2 separate regions of the Homo sapiens genome follow, and region 2 is linked to region 1. The links are contacts of gene promoters, found by promoter capture Hi-C in human tissues and cell types (Jung and others, 2019). All regions are on one chromosome and are shown on one strand. Each heading gives the region's core, a stretch centred on a gene start or on the middle of the fragment in contact. The rest is flanking DNA. Distances are from core to core; before and after follow the strand shown. Region 1 holds the start of ALOX15 (arachidonate 15-lipoxygenase). Region 2 overlaps SPNS2-AS1 (SPNS2 antisense RNA 1).

What was found. Contacts are between HindIII fragments. The study calls those that stand out against the background at their distance.
Region 2: a fragment that was not itself captured here is called in contact with the fragment with the promoter of ALOX15 in region 1 in 2 of the 25 tissues and cell types used here (IMR-90 fibroblasts and mesendoderm cells).

Annotation. Positions count from the first base shown.
Region 1 is chr17:4,639,377-4,644,095 of GRCh38, forward strand. ALOX15 (arachidonate 15-lipoxygenase) reads right to left here and starts at 2,302. Exons shown (of 14, transcript NM_001140.5): 1 at 2,141-2,302; 2 at 54-255. The coding sequence starts at 2,275. The HindIII fragment of the contact is 22,491 bases long and covers 1-4,719 here.
Region 2 is chr17:4,491,194-4,496,274 of GRCh38, forward strand. All of the region lies in intron 2 of SPNS2-AS1 (SPNS2 antisense RNA 1), which reads right to left. Among named protein-coding and RNA genes, the nearest start is that of SPNS2-AS1, 5.0 kb to the right of the region's middle. The HindIII fragment of the contact is 5,950 bases long and covers 716-5,081 here.

The sequences.
Region 1 (4,719 bases), core at 1,052-3,551:
CCAGCTTCTCACACAGCCCAGAGGCCTCCTGACACCCTCAGCCCCGCGCTTACCGGTGCCTTCAGGCAGGCTCAGGACGCCGTTGCCCTCCACCCAGCGGTAACAAGGGAACCTGACCTCGTCCCCGGCTCCGGGGCCCTGCACAGAGATCCAGTTGCAGAACCAGGCGTCGTCCTTAAGGAGGTGCCGTTTGCGCAGTTTCACAAACAGCAGCGGCCCCAGATACTCCGGTACTTCCACCTTGAGTTCTGTCTCCTGCGGGCGACAGAAGAGGCTCAGCCCCGGTGGGGCCTGGCGGGAGGGGCACCCGGCTGAGCCCTGCTCCCTCCAGCGCCCACGCCCTTCCTCGGAGCCTCTGAGAGGAGGAGACGTATCGGGGTGCGGGGACTGAGCCAGAGAGAGAGGGACCGCGCCGAGCAGGTGGCCCCAGGACTCGGTTCTGAGGGGACGGGGACGGCAGGTGGGAAGGTGCGCTCCTGCCTTCACTTTCTCCTCCCTGTGGTCACTGACTGTGCCAAGCGCTGGGCTGAGCGCTGCCGCGCCCTGGACGAGCGCGCTGTGGAGCCCGGACGCGCTGGTGGCAATTCCCGCTGTGCGACCCCCCACCCCACCCCGCCCGAGGCTGAGGACCTGCAGGGGCCCCACCGGCCTGGGGACAACCTTCCCGGAGACCTGGAGGCGGAGAGGGCTCAGCCAGGGAGAGTGACAGAAAGGGAAGGCAGGGGAAAGGCGCGCAGAAAGAGAGCGGCGGGGAAGGGAGGGCGAGCAGCATCTTGGAGCTGGAGCTCAGAGCCCAGGTGTGGGGGGTCAGCAGGTCCGGAGGCTCTCGAAGGTGGCGCCAGGGGCTTTGGATTTGGTCCCGAGAACAAGCGGGAGCCGTTCGAATGTGTTAAGCAGGGGGAGTGAATTAGGGAGAAATCATTCCGGCTTCAGAAGGGCTTGGAAGGTCTGCAGCAGAGGTGGCGAGGCCGCTGGAGGTTTGAAATGGCTTTTAAAATAGAGAAACCGGGAGGACCGACGACCGCTCCGGCGACCGCAGTTTCCAGGCACCAGAGCTGTGTGGAATGAGGGGCGCTCAGGAGCATCCCCTTAATTCCAAGGAGATCGAGTAGCGGGAACATTTATTGAGCCTTTACTGTGTGTCACCAACTGCCCACCATAGGGAGGAAAAAAGGGAGGAGGGAGCGCGCCTTTCCACCTTCCGTGCCCCGTCCCCTCACCATGGAGTCGCGGGGCCACCTGCTCCGTGCGCATTTTCTCTCTTCCTGGCTCCCTTTGCCCCGCTTTCTCGGAAGCTCGGAGCAAGGGCGTGGAGTGCGGGGAGCAGGGCTCCGCAGGTTCAAGAGGACGCGGGCGGTCGGGGGCGGGACGGATATTGGGCAGGGACGCGGGAGATGCTCAGGGTCTAGAACTGACTGCGCCGGATTCTTGTTTAGAGGGAGGTGAAGAGAGGAAGGAGGCGCGGGTGACACCGGGGGAGGCAGGAGGAGAGGGCTGGGAGGTGGGGAGAGGGGAGGACCTCATCCGGGCATGTTGCTTTGACGTTCCCTGAGACAGACATCCGGATTTGGGGATCTGGGAGAGAGCTAGAGCAGTGATGGGAATTTGGGCTTTCGCGGAAGAAAAAAAGTTAACAGGACCGGGTAGAACACCCGGTAGATGTGACATGAGATATGACGGGAGGTGGGTCGGGAAATCGAGAGCGTTCTCCTGTCTTGACTCCCCATCCCTTCCCTCTCACCACCCACTCCACCCCAGGTGATAAAGCCTGAAAGGTAGAGATCCAACAGCGCTAGCGGTTGAAACGGTTTTTAAAATAGAGAAAGCGAGAGGACCGACGGCGGCTCCAGTGACTGCTGAGTTTCCAGACAAGGGAGCTTTGTGCAATGAGGGGCGCACAGGAGCATGCCCTCAATTCCAAGGAGATCGGGTAGCGGCAACATTTATTGAGCGCTTACTGTGTGCCACCGACTGCCCTAAAGCCCCCCACCCCCGTGGCCTCCGCGCGCTTTGAGCCCAATGCGCGGGCCCTTGGCAAAGAGAATCGGCCAGAGGCCAACGGGGGCGCATGTCCTCCCCGGTATTTGACTGACTCGGAGCCAGGGGCGCAGCCCACCCCGCCCGGCTCTGGGGAGCTCACCTTGCCCCGTGCGGGCCACAGTCGCTTCCCGAGCGCCGCCTCCCCGTGCTGGCCGACCAGCCACAGCTGCACCTGGTTGTTGGAACCGGCATAGAGCGAGGCCCCAGTGGACACGCGGATGCGGTAGAGACCCATCTTGCTCAAAGATGTTTCGCTCCTTCTGGTGGAGAAGGGTGGACGAGCTAAATAACCCAGCCTGAGACCCCGCCCTCTCGGAGGTCGCTTGGGGTCGGAATGTGGGTGGCAGGTCTCCAATCAACTCCGCCTACCGCTGGGGCCCCCAGCTCCAAGGAGCAGAGCTTCAAGGGGCAGAATTCAGCCCCAGTCCAAAAGGCGGTGTCCTGGCGAGAGCAGGGAGTGGAAACCACTATCTTGACGGGAGGGAGAAAAAGAAAAGGATTTGGACCGAAAACACGCAGGAAGAGGGAATCAACGCCTGGTACAGCAGGCAGGCGAGGTGGGGGTAGGAGTTATGCACGTGTGTACCACGGACTTTGGGCCAAGCCTGGGTGGCTGGGAAGCCAACCTCCATCTAAACGCACGCGTGCACACACACACACACGCAAGGACACGCGCGCGCACACACAAGCCTCACAAGTTGGATTGCAGGAGAGGGTGAAGTGGGCGAGGAGACCCAGTTTGCAGTGGCATTTGAGGAAGGTACATTCAGGCCACGGAATTCATTCGACCAGCTTTGCACACTTGCCTTCTCTGTGCCAGCCACTGGGACTCATTCCTTTTGAGCATAAAAGCCGCTGCCTCCCTGTTGCCTGCAGAATAAAAGTCCAAATGTTTCTGGCATTCAATGCCCTTGCTAACCTGACCTGCTCTCCTCACCTCTCATCCCACTGCACCCTGGCATCTCCTGTGCTGGAGCCATGTGTTCCCCGGAACCCCCCCTCCCCCCGCCGCCCCTGCTGTTCTCTCAAAGAACTCACTTCTGGGTTAGTCTGGTCATGCTTCTAAACCCTAATTCGTCTCCAGTTTCTTTTTGGGCTGGAGCCATGTGTTCCCCAGAACCCCACCTGCTGTTCTCTCAAAAGAACTTGCTCCTGGATTAGTCTATTCATCTATTCATGCTTCTAAACCCTAGTTCACCTCCGGTTTCTCAGGAAAGTCTTACCCGGTACTTTCACCCCCCACCACCCCACCAGAGTGAATTAGCTTTCCTTTTTTTTTTTTTTTTGAGATATAGAGTCTCACTCTGTCACCCTGGAATGCAGGGTGGAGTGCAATGGCACGATCTCGGCTCACGGCAACCTCTGCCTCCCGGGCTCAAGCAATTCTCTGCCTCAGCCTTCCGAGTAGCTGGGATTACAGGCGCCTGCCACCATGCCTGGATAATTTTTGTATTTTTAGTAGAGACGGGGTTTCTCCATGTTGGCCACGCTGGTCTTGAACTCCTGACCTTGTGATCCACCCACCTCAGTCTCCCAAAGTGCTGGAATTACAGGTGTGAGCCACGGCGCCCGGCCCAGCTTTCCTTTCTAACACTTTTCTCCTTGCGCACACTTCTACTGTTGCACAGTTAATACTGCAGTGTGAGCATTTGTATGTGTGTATCCCCCACTAATGTGAGCCCGTCCTAGGCAGGGACTACACACCCAGCAGGACTCTCACTTTTGTTTCCCCTGGAGACGGCACAGTGTCAGGGTTTGTGGGTGTCAATAAGTGTTTGCTGAAACACACTGAGCTGAAAAATTCATTATAAATGAATGCTTCCCTTGGGGGAGACAAAGGGAAACAAATTATCAGGCAATGTAAACAAAAGGGGAATACTAACATAAACTTCATGGCATGGATTACAATCAGCCTGGTAACACAAATGAAGTCCACGAAAATATGTCTGTGATGCATATTTTCTGGTTTGCTTGTTTTTTGTTTTTGGTGTTTTTTTTTTTAATGAGATGGAGTCTTGCTCTGTTGCCCGGGCTAGAGTACAGTGGTGTGATCTCGGCTCACTGCAACCTCCACCTGCCGGGTTCAAGCGATTCTCCTGCCTCAGCCTCCAGAGTAGCTGGGATTACAGGCACCCACCAACATGCCCGGCTACTTTTTGTATTTTCAGTCGAGATGGGGTTTCACCATGTTGGCCAGGCTGGTCTTGAACTCCTGACCTCAAGTGATCCACCTGCCTCGGCCTCCCCAAGTGCTGGGATTACAGCCATGAGCCATCATGTCCGGCCCTGCTTAATTGTTTACTGGGAAGTACATTCATGTGATTCAAAATTCAAAAGGTACAAAGTGATATTCACTAGTTTCTCCCTCCTCTTGGCCCCAAGCCACCCAGTTGCTCCACTCCCAGCAATCACAGTTACCAGTCTCTTCTGTGCACTAATATTACTGAGCAAATACACGCCTATCTTTGTCTTTTTCTGCACATTGTAGCATGCCTTATTCTGCATCTCGTTTTTCCATAGTGCAACAGGAGGTCATTCCATATCCATGCATAAAGAGCTTCCTTGTTCTTTGCTAAGGCTGCCATTTGCTGTAACGCCATAAATTCTACTAGTCTCTTGTAGTGGACACAGGTTATTAGTAATCTTTTGTAGCTATGAAAAAGTGCTGAAAGAAATAAA
Region 2 (5,081 bases), core at 2,441-4,940, 150 kb before region 1:
CTCAGCTCACTGCAACCTCCGCCTCCCGGGTTCAAGCGATTCTCCTTCCTCGGCCTCCCAAGCAGTTGGGATTACAGGCATCCACCACGCCCGGCTAATTTTGTATTTTTAGTAAAGACGGGGTTTCTCCATGTTGGTCAGGCTGGTCTCAAGCTCCCGACCTCAGGGGATCTGCCTGCCTCGGCCTCCCAAAGTGCTGGGATTAAGGCTTGAGCCACCGCACCCAGCCTTAATTTTTCATATTTTTAGTAGAGACAGGGTTTTGCCATGTTGGCCAGGATGGTCTCGAACTCTTGAGCTCAGGCAATCCACCCGCCTCAGCCTCCCAAAGTACTACAATTACAGGTGTGAGCCAATGCGCCTGGCCTAAAAGCTCTTTTTCCACTTTGTCCTGAAGGTTGAGGGGGTTGAACCTGTGTGTCTGGATTCCCACACCCTAACCCTGGCTTGTTGCTCTGCAACATCAAATATTGGTCTGTTTCATTCCCTGAAGTGTTTGACTTTGCTTTGTGCCTGGGTGGGCTTGGGAGGTTGTTTAATCTAATGCAGCCTCTACAGACAAAGCTGGCAGCAGGCAGCTGGAGGTTCCGGGAGCCATGCTTTATCTCAGCACAGACAGGTGTGTGACTGCGTGTGCTCCTGTGTGACCATATCAGTTTGGGTTGTGGGGTTGTATGCAACGGAAACAGACTGACTACCTCTACCAGGCAAAGGATGCATTGAAAGCACATCAGGAACTCATAGAATTGATGAGAAGGTTGGAGATTCAGGAGCCAGGGTTCCTGGGCCATATTATTTTGGGGTCTGTGCCAGAACTCCAGATATTTTATCCCTATTCTTTTGCCACCCTCCTCAAGATTTAAAGCCCTGGGCAAGAGATTCCAGTTGGGTTAGCTTGGATCCTATACCCATGCCTTGGTTTATAGCCGCATTAAGACCAGCAGACCAGTGTGCCGTTAGGAAGAGGAAGGAAGTCTCAGCACCAAAACAAAACAGGAATTAAAACAAGATGACAGGCTGGGCGCGGTGGTTCATGCCTGTAATCCCAGCACTTTGGGATGCCAAGGTAGGTGGATCACCTGAGGTCAGGAGTTCAAGACCAGCCTGGCCAACATGGAGAAACCCCGTCTCTATTAAAAATACAAAAATTAGCTGGGCTTGGTGGTGCGCACCTGTAATCCCAGCTACTCAGGAGGGTGAAGCAGGAGAATCGCTTGAACTCAGGAGGCGGAGGTTGCAGTGAGCTGAAATCGTGCTCCAGCCCGGGCAACAAGAGTGAAACTCCTTCTTGGAAAAAAAAAAAAAAAGAAGAAGAAAGAAAACAAGATGACAGAAAACAAAAACAAAGGTAGCATCCACTACAATATCTCGGGCAGGCCACTGGCCATCTCTGAGGTGCAGCCTCTCCATGGGATGGGGAAGAGGCTGGACTCGATGCCCTTCGGTGGAGTCTTTATTTCTGATAGTCTGCATCCATGATGAAAAGAGACTGAAGCTTCTGTAATGTAGAAAGTGTTAAAAATGTTCAAATGGCAGAACAGGAACTTCTGTGTTAGTGGGGACTCAGAGCCATCTGTTCTGAGCAGGAGAGAGAGGCAGAGACGAAGCGTTCTGAGCAAAGATAGGCTCGGGCTGGGGGAGGGAACGGGGGCCCCAACCAGTCCTCAGCTTGGCAACAGCAAGAGCAGAGAGGAGGTGCCTTCTCCCCACCGTGGGTGGTGACCTGCGGGGAAGGCTAATCAAAGGGTGGAGGCAAACAGCAGGTGGAAGCTAATGGAGGGTGGAGTCAATCAGGAAGAAAATGCCTTTTCCAGAGGAACCAGGAGACGAATCTGGTTTCTGAGTCATTCAGAGCAACAGACGCGTGATGCAAATCAATGTACATTTCCTGAGCACCTGCTAAATGTCATTTACTCATTCAATCAACAAACATTCTTTGAGCACCTCCTCTGTACTGGCTCGTGGAGATGAATCAGAAAGGGTACGGGCCCTCGAGGCTCACGGTCTGTTGGTGAAGGGCGGGGGACAGATTCTTGCACAGACAAAAATCAGCACAGTGTTGGTGTGATGGAAGGATACACAGGTTACTCAATAGCCCAGAGGAGGAAATGGTTGTTCAGGTGGGCCGGGGAAGGCTTCCCGGAGGAAGCTGTTTCTGTGCTGGGTTCCTGAAGGACAAGTGGGAAGAGTGAATAGGCCACACAGGCAGAGCATGCCTCAGTCAGGGTCGGGGTCAGGGGTTGCACGCGGGATGCTCTCCATGGTCCTGAATCATCGCTGTGCTAGTGGGACAAGGGCTTTTTTGTTGATAGGAGGACAGGGGCTATAGAATAGTGCCCCAATTCTTGCCCCTCCCCCAGGCTCCAGGAAGTATTATAACTGTGAGTTCAAGAAGCTCCATGTTCAGTGTGGCAGAGGGTAATTTTGAGAGATGGGCCGTAGGATCTGAGGCTGGAGATTGTCATGGGTTGTGAAAAGTTGTGAAGGCTCTTGGAGATCATTAAGGAATGTAGTTTTTTTTTTTGAAACAGAGTCTCGCTCTGTCACCCAGACTGGAGTGCAGTGGCGCGATCTCGGCTCACTGCAAGCTCCGCCTCCTGGGTTCACGCCATTCTCCTGCCTCAGCCTCCCGAGTAGATGGGACAACAGGCGCCCACCACCACGCCCAGCTAATTTTTTGTATTTTTTAGTAGAGACAGGGTTTCACCATGTTAGCCAGGATTGTCTCGATCTCCTGACCTCGTGATCCGCCCGCCTCGGCTTCCCGAAGTGCTGGGATTACAGGCGTGAGTCACTGCGCCCGGCCAGGAACGTAGACATTTTTAACCCTATAGCCAGTGAAGAGCCTTAGAAAGGTTTTGCTCAAGGTAGTGATGAGGTCCTTTGTGGGATTCAGAAAGTGACTGATAAGCAATATGGAGAAACGACTGGAGGGCCGGCCGAGCACAGTGGCTCACGCCTGTAATCCCAGCACTTTGGGATGCCAAGGTGGGTGGATCACTTGAGGCCAGGAGTTCGAGACCAGCCTGGCCAACATGATGAAACCCCGTCTCTACTAAAAATAAAAAAAATTAGCCGGGCATGGTGGTGCACACCTGTAATCCCAGCTACTCAGGAGGCTGAGGCAGGAGAATTGCTTGAACCCAGGAGGCAGAGGTTGCAGTGAGCCGAGATTGTGCCATTGCACTCCAGCCTGGGTGACAGAGCAGGACTCCGTCTCAAAAAACAAACAAACAAAACTGGAGGGGGATGTGGGAACAGGTAATGTTGAGCTTTACAAGGGTCCAGGTAAGACACAGAGAGGCCTGAGCTAAGCCAGTGGGCAATGTGGACGTGGGGAGATGTTCAAGAGAGGAAATTGAAAGCCCTTAGATGTGGCTGTTGAGGAGAAGGAGCCCCACATGGCTCCCAGGCTTTCTGCTTGGCGACAGTGTGGATGATGGTGTTTTTGACAAAAGATAAATGATACCAGAGTGGGAGCAGGTTGGGGGAAGGATGACAAGTTCAGTTTCAAATGTGCTGAGCCTAAGGTACATGTGGGATATCTGGTGGGGGGCACGTGTAGGAGGCTGCATATGGATCTCGTGTTTGGAGATGAGGCCCTGTCTAGAGATGGAGGTTGGGGTGTCATAGTCACATGGATGATCATTGAAAGTTGAGGCCACAGCTGCACATGGTGCTCACCCCTCTAACCCCAGCATTTTGGTAGGCTGAGGTGGGAGGATCACTTGAGCCCTAGAGTTTGAGACCAGCCTGGTCAACATAGTGAGACCTTTTTCCTAAAAAAAAAATTGCTGGGTGTGGTGGTGCACGCTTATAGTCCCAGCCTTTTGGGAAGCTGAGGTGTGGATCCTCAGGAGAGGAAGACTCTTCTTTTTTATATATATATTTTTATTTTTTATTATTATTTTTTTCTTCCTGAGATGGAGTCTTGCTCTGTCACCCAGGCTGGAATATGAAAGTCTCCGTTTCTCTGTCTTTGCTCCTGTCTGTCTTGGCTCTCTTTTTTTTGTTTTTTGTTTTTTTGTTTTTTGTTGTTGTTGTTGTTTTGAGACAGAGTCTCACTCTGTCACCCACGCTGGAGTGCAGTGGTGTGATCTCGGCTCACTACAACCTCCGCCTCCTGGGTTCAAGCAATTCTCCTCCCAAGTAGCTGGGATGACAGGCGCATGCCACCACACCCAGCTAATTTTTGTGTTTTCACTAGAGATGGGGTTTCTCCATGTTGGCTAGGCTGATCTTGAATTCCTGACCTCAAGTGATCTGCTCGCCTTGGCCTCCCAAAGTGCTGGGATTACAGGCATGAGCCACCGCGCCCAGCATCAGGAAGCCCCTTCTTAAGGAGGATCCCTTGAGCCCAAGAGGTCAAAGTTATGATGAGCTATGATTGCACCACTGCGTTCCAGCCTGGGTGACAGAGAGAGACCCTGCCTCTTAAAAATTTTTTCAAAAAAAGTAAATTTCAGGCCTAGGTGAGAGGCTGCCAAGGGGGAAGGGAAACAACCGAGGCCTGAGCCCTGGAGACACTCCCATGTGGGAGGATGGGCAGAGGGCAGATGGGCTGAGCTCCCAATTACCAGCCAAGGAGGAGCAAGTGCATTCTAGGCCAGTGTTTCTCAGAGTGTGTCCTGCAGAGCTCTCGTCTTGCAAGACATTCTGTGGTCACACACACCTGGGAACGTGGCATCCTATATCTCCCTCTGGGAGACTCAGAGCATGTATTCTCATAGTAAAGGCTCTCAAAAGTCCCTAAGGAAACCTACTTTTCTGTGTTTATCCCACTACTTCCCAAGTATGACTGCTCTTTGAATAATGGCCATTAATGTTCTGTGCCCCATTTTTTTCTTTTTTGTGTGTGTTCTTTTCTTTTTTTCCCCCCACTTTTGTTTTTTGTTTTTGTTTTTGTTTTTGAGATGGAGTCTCACTCTGTCACCGAGGCTGGAGTGCAGTGGCATGATCTTGGCTCACTGCAACCTCTGCCTCCCAAGTTCAAGCAATTCTCCTGCCTCAGCCTCCTAAGTAGCTGGGATTACAGGCGCGCCCCACCACGCCTGGCTAATTTTTGTATTTTTAGTAGAGAC